Linked DNA regions of Homo sapiens: region 2 is linked to region 1. Evidence: promoter capture Hi-C in 16 types of primary human blood cells and fetal thymus (Javierre and others, 2016). All regions are on one chromosome and are shown on one strand. The core of a region is centred on a gene start or on the middle of the fragment in contact, and the rest is flanking DNA. Distances in the headings are between cores, read along the strand shown. Region 1 holds the start of DNPH1 (2'-deoxynucleoside 5'-phosphate N-hydrolase 1). Region 2 overlaps ABCC10 (ATP binding cassette subfamily C member 10).

Region 1 (3,718 bases), core at 570-3,069:
TAGATCACTCAAGCTGCTGAGTGGAGAGCAAACTGTAGCAGGGAAGGGCCAGGGGAGGTGTATAGAGAACCCTTGACATAAGTAATTCCATCTTAGAAAGACTCCATCACTGGGCACATTCGCTTATGCCTGTAATCCCAGCGCTTTGGGAGGCTGAGGTAGGGGGATTGCTTGGGTCTAGGAGTTTTGAGACCAGCCGTGGAAACATAGTGAGACCTCGTCTCTACAATTTTTTTTTTTTTGAGATGGAGTTTCACTCTGTTGCCTAGGCTGGAGTGCAGTGGCGTGATCTTGGCTCACTGCAACCTCTGCCTCCCGGGTTCAAGCGATTCTCCAGCCTCAGCCTCTGGAGTAGCTGGGACTACAGGAGTGTGCCACCACGCCTGGCTAACTTTTTGTATTTTTAGTAGAGACGGGGTTTCACCGCGTTAGCCAGGATGGTCTCGATCTCCTGACCTCGTGATCTGCCCACCTCGGCCTCCCAAAGTGCTGGGATTACAGACATGAGCCACCGAGCCCAGCCAATTTTTTTTTTATTAGCTCAGCATGGTGGCACGTGCCTGTAGTCCTAGCTACTCAGGAAGCTGAGGTGGGAGGATTCCTTGAACCCTCAAACTTGAGGCACGAGTTTGAGGCTGCAGTGAGCAATGATCGTGCCTCTGCACTCCAGTGTGGGCGACAGGGACCTTGTCACCAAAAATAATAAATAAATAAATAAATAAAGTTTTAAAAAACTTCATCTTACATTTCAAAAGGCATCAAGCCAACAGGGTCCAGATGTTCGCCTAACCAATGGAGACAACACCCAACCAGATAAGGGCATCACCCTTTACTATAAGTCCTCATCAGAGGACTCAAGGACCATAAAATGATCAGGACTTCAGCAGCTAGACACGGCCACCTTAACAGACCGAGTCTTGCTATCACTCGTGCCCAGCACCTGGTGTCTGCCTCTGAAGGCTCTGCCCAAATCAAGGACTCTTCCTTGCAAGCTCTTGATGACTATCCCCATCAGGCCGGGACTCTGTCCACAGCACTCTCCTTGGACTGGTTCGTTAACCCCTTTTCTCTTGATGTTAAATGTTCTTGTGTTTGATGTGAAATTTTAACCTGTAACATTTATATCCTTACATATAATACTATGGATGGTTTGCAATACAGTCTGACTTGTGGAGTGGCTCCAGCTTGCATGCCCGCGGCTCTGACTACCGAGTGAACAGGTGGTCCTAAGGAGAACTGACTTCTTGGGAACTCCGTGTGACGCCTAGCTTTTGTGATTGAAATAGCATCAGTAAAAACCTGATCTTGTGGACAGACACAAAGGTGGGTGGACCTGGTTCTGTCTGACCTTGAGCAGCTCACGACATGTGGACACCTGTTAGGAGGCTGTGGAGAGCCCAGAGGAGGCTTAGACCAGGGTGGTGGCCCTGTAGGCGGTCGTGAGATTTCAGATTTGGAAGGACGAATCCACACGAGTTGTCAATGGATGGGACGCAGAGTTTGAGAGAAAGGGAACGATCCAGATGACTCCGAGGGTCTTGGGCCTGAGCAGCTGGGAGGATGCAGCTGGGGAAGACGGCGGGGAGGAGGGGAGCAGAAGCGGGTGAGGTGGGGAAGCCCTCGAGTTCTGCCTGGACAAGGTCAAGTTAAGGTGCGTGTTAGGCATCCGAACGTCAAGTCCAGGAAGGGTGTGTTCCCGAAAGGGTCCCGGCTGGATCCTCCCAGTTCGTCGTCCCCATTCCACAGGTGTGGACTCAGCAGCCGGGCTCTGCGCTGGGCCGGGCGGGGTCACGTGGCCGCGGGCTGGCGCCCCCTGGCGCCGGAGAGCGCGGGCGGCTGGGGAATGGCTGCTGCCATGGTGCCGGGGCGCAGCGAGAGCTGGGAGCGCGGGGAGCCTGGCCGCCCGGCCCTGTACTTCTGCGGGAGCATTCGCGGCGGACGCGAGGACAGGACGCTGTACGAGCGGATCGTGTCTCGGCTGCGGCGATTCGGGACAGTGCTCACCGAGCACGTGGCGGCCGCCGAGCTGGGCGCGCGCGGTGAGGCCCTGGGGCCGCGGGACGCGGGGACGCGGGCGCGGACCTGGCTGGGGTGGCAGGGACCCGGCCTGTCCGCCCCCCCGACCCCCGGCAGCTGCGCTCCCGGCGCCCGGAGCCCGCCCTCCTACCCCGGTGCTCCATCCAGCGCCCCAGCCCGAGAAGGAAACGGGCCGGGGCTCGGGCTGCGTGGGTCCCAGCAAGCCTGCGGGTGTAAGGCAGACTCAGCATTATCTTGACCTTTGGTTCCTTCTTGGAGAACTCTGTCTTCAGCTGCTTTCAGAGCGTTTGTAGGGTGCAACAGAAAGAAGGTAGATTGGGCTGCTTTGCTTGGGCTCAGTTCCCACCTCACCCGCTGGAATCTTTTCCACCACCCAACACGAAAGGTATCCTCCTGCCTCCCCACCAACTTTTTTTGTTTTGTTTTGTTTTGTTTTTGAAACGGAATCTCACTCTGTCGCCCAGGCTGGAGTGCAGTTGCGTGATCTCGGCTCACTGCAACCTCGACCTCCCGGGTTCAAGTGATTCTCTTGCCTCAGCCTCCCGAGTAGCTGGGACTACAGGCACGCGTCACCACACCCGGCTACTTTTTGTATTTTTAGTAGAGACGGTGTTTCACCATATTGGTCAGGCTGGTTTCGAACTCCTGACCTCAGGTGATCTGCCCGCCTCGGCCTCCCAAAGTGCTGGGATTACAGACAGGAGCCACCGCCCAGGGCCTGCCTCCCCTTTTTCTGTGAAGACATCAGCACTCTTTTAGACCTGGCTGACCCCAGTTCTCACTATTACCCTCTCTCACATTTTTGTTTTGTTGATACAAGGGCCTCTCTGTCGCCCAGGCTGGAGTGCAGTGGTGCGATCATAGCTCACTGCAGCCTCGGCTTCCTAAACTCATGATCCTCCAGCCTCAGCCTCCTATTAGCAAGGACTGCAGGGGCACGACACCATGCCTGGCTCAAAATTTTTCTGTAGAGATTGGGAGTCTCACTATGTTGCCCAGTCTGGTCCCGACCTCCTAGCCTCAAGTGATCCTCCCGCCTCAGGCCTCCCGAAGTGCTGGGACTATAGATGTGAGCCCCCATGCTGGCCTCATATTCTCTTTCAGGCCATTATTGTGTTCTGCTCCTGGCTGCTGGGTTTTTCTTTCTCTTTCTATTTATTTAGTTATTTATTTGGAAACAGTCTTGTTCTATTACCCATGCTGGAGTGCAGTGGCAAAATCTCAGCTCACTGCTAACCTCTGCCTCCCGGGCTTGAGCAATCCTCCCACCTCAGCCTCCCAAGTAGCTGGGACTACAGGTGTGTGCCGCCATACCTGGTTAAGTTTTGTATTTTTTATAGGGACGGGATTTTGCCATGTTGGCCAGGCTGGTCTTGAACTCCTGAGCCCAAGTGATCTGCCTGCCTCAGCCTCCCAAAGTGTTGGGATTACAGACATGAGCCGCTGAGTCTGGCTGGATTTCTCTAAAGCATATTTGATGTGCTGGTCTGGAATCTTGCAGATCCTTCCAGTTTGAAAATTGTATCTTGAATGCTTGTGCTTCTGCTCAGAAAACCTTAAGTGGTTTCCACTTATCCTACCCAAGAGCAGACCCACAATTTGTGGGACCTCATGCAATTCTGGGAGACCTCTTTAAAAAGACAAAAATCACAATACAAAGTTGCTGATGGTTTGGAAAGGG
Region 2 (3,718 bases), core at 553-3,052, 220 kb before region 1:
GAGGGGCCCGCTGTCGGGACCGTGTCCACGACTTCGACTGCCTCTGCCCCAGTGGCTATGGTGGCAAGACCTGTGAGCTTGTCTTACCTGTCCCAGACCCCCCAACCACAGTGGACACCCCTCTAGGGCCCACCTCAGCTGTAGTGGTACCTGCCACGGGGCCAGCCCCCCACAGCGCAGGGGCTGGTCTGCTGCGGATCTCAGTGAAGGAGGTGGTGCGGAGGCAAGAGGCTGGGCTAGGTGAGCCTAGCTTGGTGGCCCTGGTGGTGTTTGGGGCCCTCACTGCTGCCCTGGTTCTGGCTACTGTGTTGCTGACCCTGAGGGCCTGGCGCCGGGGTGTCTGCCCCCCTGGACCCTGTTGCTACCCTGCCCCACACTATGCTCCAGCGTGCCAGGACCAGGAGTGTCAGGTTAGCATGCTGCCAGCAGGGCTCCCCCTGCCACGTGACTTGCCCCCTGAGCCTGGAAAGACCACAGCACTGTGATGGAGGTGGGGGCTTTCTGGCCCCCTTCCTCACCTCTTCCACCCCTCAGACTGGAGTGGTCCGTTCTCACCACCCTTCAGCTTGGGTACACACACAGAGGAGACCTCAGCCTCACACCAGAAATATTATTTTTTTAATACACAGAATGTAAGATGGAATTTTATCAAATAAAACTATGAAAATGCAAGTGGGCTCCTATGCCAGAAAAACCCACCTGGCGTTCCAGATGCAAGAGGGCCAGAGCAGAGGCCTGGTTCTGGGGAAGCCTCAGGATGCTGCCCACCAAGGAGTGATTTCCAAAGAGTAATCCAGGGTGCCCTTTTCCCTTCTGGGGAAGTGTGGAGAGGTAGAGCCCCAGAGGAGAATGTAAACAAGCAGCCAGCACCTCTGTATAGGCCCGGCCTGGATCAGAGAGAGGGGAGAACTCTGCAGGGTGTGGGATTGGGCTCAGGGACCTCCGAGTGAGGCAGGGACTCCCTGCTGGCTGCTCTGCAGCAGCTGCTGGAACAGGGAGTGGGGCTGGTTGCGCAGGGTGGCCGGGGAGTCCAGCTCTACCACTCTCCCCGCTTGTAGCACCAGCACCCGGTCTGAGTTCAGGATCGTGTTGAGCCTGTGAGGGGGAAGATGGTCAGTGTAGGGGATGAGGGACAATGCCCTAAGTAAGAACACTGACCTGCTTTCCCTCCTCTCCCCTCGGGACACCACAGGTCTGTCCCCACAGGCTTTAGCCCCTGGCTTGGTGCTGGGGAAGGGACTGCAGAGTCCCTCAGATAATGTGCTATAAAGGGCCCTAGGCAGTGCTATAAAGGGCCCTCAGATAATGTGCTATAAAGGGCCCTAGGCAGTGCTATAAAGGACCCTTCTCGTCCCTGGAGAAGGAGGAGCTGAGATCTGGGGGGGCAGGATCTCTAAGGCCCTGACCACTGGGGTCCCTGAAAGCAACGGAGGCTCTCGGTGCATGCTACCACAGTCCCTGATTAGGCTGTTACCAGGCGTTTACATACCTATGGGCAATGGTCAGCACTGTCTTGTTGGCAAAGCGTTTGCAGATGGTCTGCTGGAGCAGCTGGTCTGTCTTCTGGTCCACACTTGCTGTGGCCTCATCGATACACAGGATCTGGAATATGGGAATGGGGTAGGGGATAAGAAGGAAGGAGAGGCTGCAGGGTGGGTTGGGCCTGGCCCAAGCAACAGCCCCTACCACAGCTCCCCACTTCCAGCTCTAAAAGGAAAATGAACTTGGTCCCCTAAAACCTCTCCCCACTCTACCTCCCCACCTCCCGGCCCCCAGCCTTCTTCCTGGCCCTCTCTAATGTCTCTTTCTCTCACCTTACCTTGGCATCTGTGAGGAGAGCCCTGGCCAAACACAACAGCTGCCTCTGCCCAAGAGATAAGCTCCGGCCCCCCTCACCCAGCTCACCATCCAGACCACCTGCAAGGAAAGCATCTTCGTTGCAGGGCCCAGGCCATCCCTGCTCCCTTCTTGCTCTAAGGTCAGGGTCCAGCACTCACCCATGGATGTAATCACCTCACTCAGGTGGCACTGCTTCAGGGCCTGCCACAAGGCCCTGTCCTTATGTAGGCCCTGGGGGTCCAGGTTTTCCCGAACAGTCCCACTGAACAAAAAGGGCTCCTGGGGGATGATAGCCAACTGGGATCTGGGGGACAATGACATGGAGTCTAGTGGTTGGAGATGTAGCCACTTCTGCTCCCAGCTCAGTTTCTGACTACAGGGCTAGCACCTCCATGAAAGCCTGGGTATGAGACCTGAACATAACCCCACTCTGCTCCCCACCCCATCCCCACCAAATGATCTGTTAGTAGCTGGGTACCTAGAACTGTGCCAGTGCTATGAGCAATACCAAAGAAACCAAAGGCTGGACTCTGTCCTCAAGGTGCCTACATTTCACGGAGGTGCACACACACAAACCAGACAAAACAAATGGGCTAAACTGTGTGGCACTGACTCCAGGGGTGGCAGTGGCTACGCAGGGAATGACCAGAGCGACTGAAAGGGCAGGTGACACTTCAAGGTTGGAGTGGGCCTAGAATTGGGTCCTGAAGACATGATGGAGCTATAAGGTAGGGCCACCACAGCTTAGAAGAGAAGGCAGAAGAGGCAGGCCTAGGGCTTTAGGATACAGCTTCCCTACCTTTTCCATGTCACCGTACTCAGAGAAAATGATACTAGGTTGACCTGGAGGTAAGGAAGGGTTGTATACCCTCCAGTGAGGCCACCTGAAGCCAAGGGCAACCGGTTCAGGTCTCAAGCTGTCTGAAGCACTGCCTGCTGAGCCTAGGACTCAGGGGATCAGTATCTTGGGGCACAAGAGTGGAGGGTGTATGGTAGGAAGTACAAGAAAGATGAAGCTGGAAAGGTGGCCTGGGTCAGGGCGAGGAAGACCTTGAGATCACCAGCCATGAATCTGGACCTGGGCACTAGGAGTTCGCTGTCCTTGCCTGCTCATCCTGTCCTCCATTTCAGCCCCCTGATCAGCCCTGGCTGCTGTGAGTTTATATAAAGCCTTCCTGGCTATGCCCTCCTCTAAGTGCCAGTAGTTCTGGTTCCCCCTTCCCCTCCCAAGTCCATCTCCCCCAGACCTGAGCTGGGCCAGCTCCAGCTGGCTGGTGTCCACGCCGTCCAGCAGCACTCGCCCTGAACTGGGCTCTAGCAGCCGGAAGAGCACCAACAACAGGGAAGACTTGCCGGAGCCTGTGCGGCCCACGATGCCCAACTTCTCTCCAGGCTGCACGCAGAAGGTCACTCCATCCAGGGCATTCGGCAGCCCTGGCCGGTACGCCAACACCACGTCCTGGAACTCCACGCCCCCCTGGGTCAGCCAGCCGGTGCCCAGCTGGTGGGGTCCATGGGTGGGAGACAGACGGGGAAAGGGAGATAGGGGAGATGAGGAGCGATGGTGAGGAGGGGAGAATAATGAGAAATGGACAGTGTGAGAGGAATGAGAGAATGAGAGATGGGGAAGAAGGGACATGGTGAAGAATTGTGGTCATCATGAAGAGAGGTTATGGGAGCTGAGAAAGATGGGTGGGCAAAAAGAAAGGAATTGTGAGGGAGACTGGGGCCTTCAGGGTTCCAGAGCTTTGGCCTGGGGTGGGGGTACAGGCCCACCTGCAGTGGCTGGCCCTGGGGTTCCTGGGGCAGGTCACAGGTGTACTCTTCCAGCCGCTCGACGCTCACCAGCATGGCCTCTGTCTGTGTGAAGCTGCTCACC

Evidence for each region. Contacts are between HindIII fragments. The CHiCAGO score rates a contact against its expected background, and 5 or more counts as called.
Region 2: a fragment that was not itself captured here is called in contact with the fragment with the promoter of DNPH1 in region 1 in 2 of 17 cell types (total B cells and endothelial precursors); the score reaches 5.0 in total B cells.

Annotation. Positions count from the first base shown.
Region 1 is chr6:43,227,582-43,231,299 of GRCh38, reverse strand. It overlaps DNPH1 (2'-deoxynucleoside 5'-phosphate N-hydrolase 1), which reads left to right and starts at 1,819. Exons shown (of 4, transcript NM_006443.3): 1 at 1,819-2,039. The coding sequence starts at 1,844. RefSeq lists silencers at 1,521-1,960, 2,021-2,210 and an enhancer at 1,538-2,037. The HindIII fragment of the contact is 28,530 bases long and covers 1-3,718 here.
Region 2 is chr6:43,447,306-43,451,023 of GRCh38, reverse strand. ABCC10 (ATP binding cassette subfamily C member 10) reads right to left here. Exons shown (of 22, transcript NM_001198934.2): 17 at 3,616-3,718; 18 at 3,087-3,340; 19 at 1,998-2,143; 20 at 1,820-1,917; 21 at 1,490-1,602; 22 at 597-1,095. The coding sequence ends at 933. It overlaps DLK2 (delta like non-canonical Notch ligand 2), which reads left to right. Exons shown (of 6, transcript NM_023932.4): 6 at 1-672. The coding sequence ends at 485. Among named protein-coding and RNA genes, the nearest start is that of DLK2, 6.4 kb to the left of the region's middle. The HindIII fragment of the contact is 9,873 bases long and covers 1-3,718 here.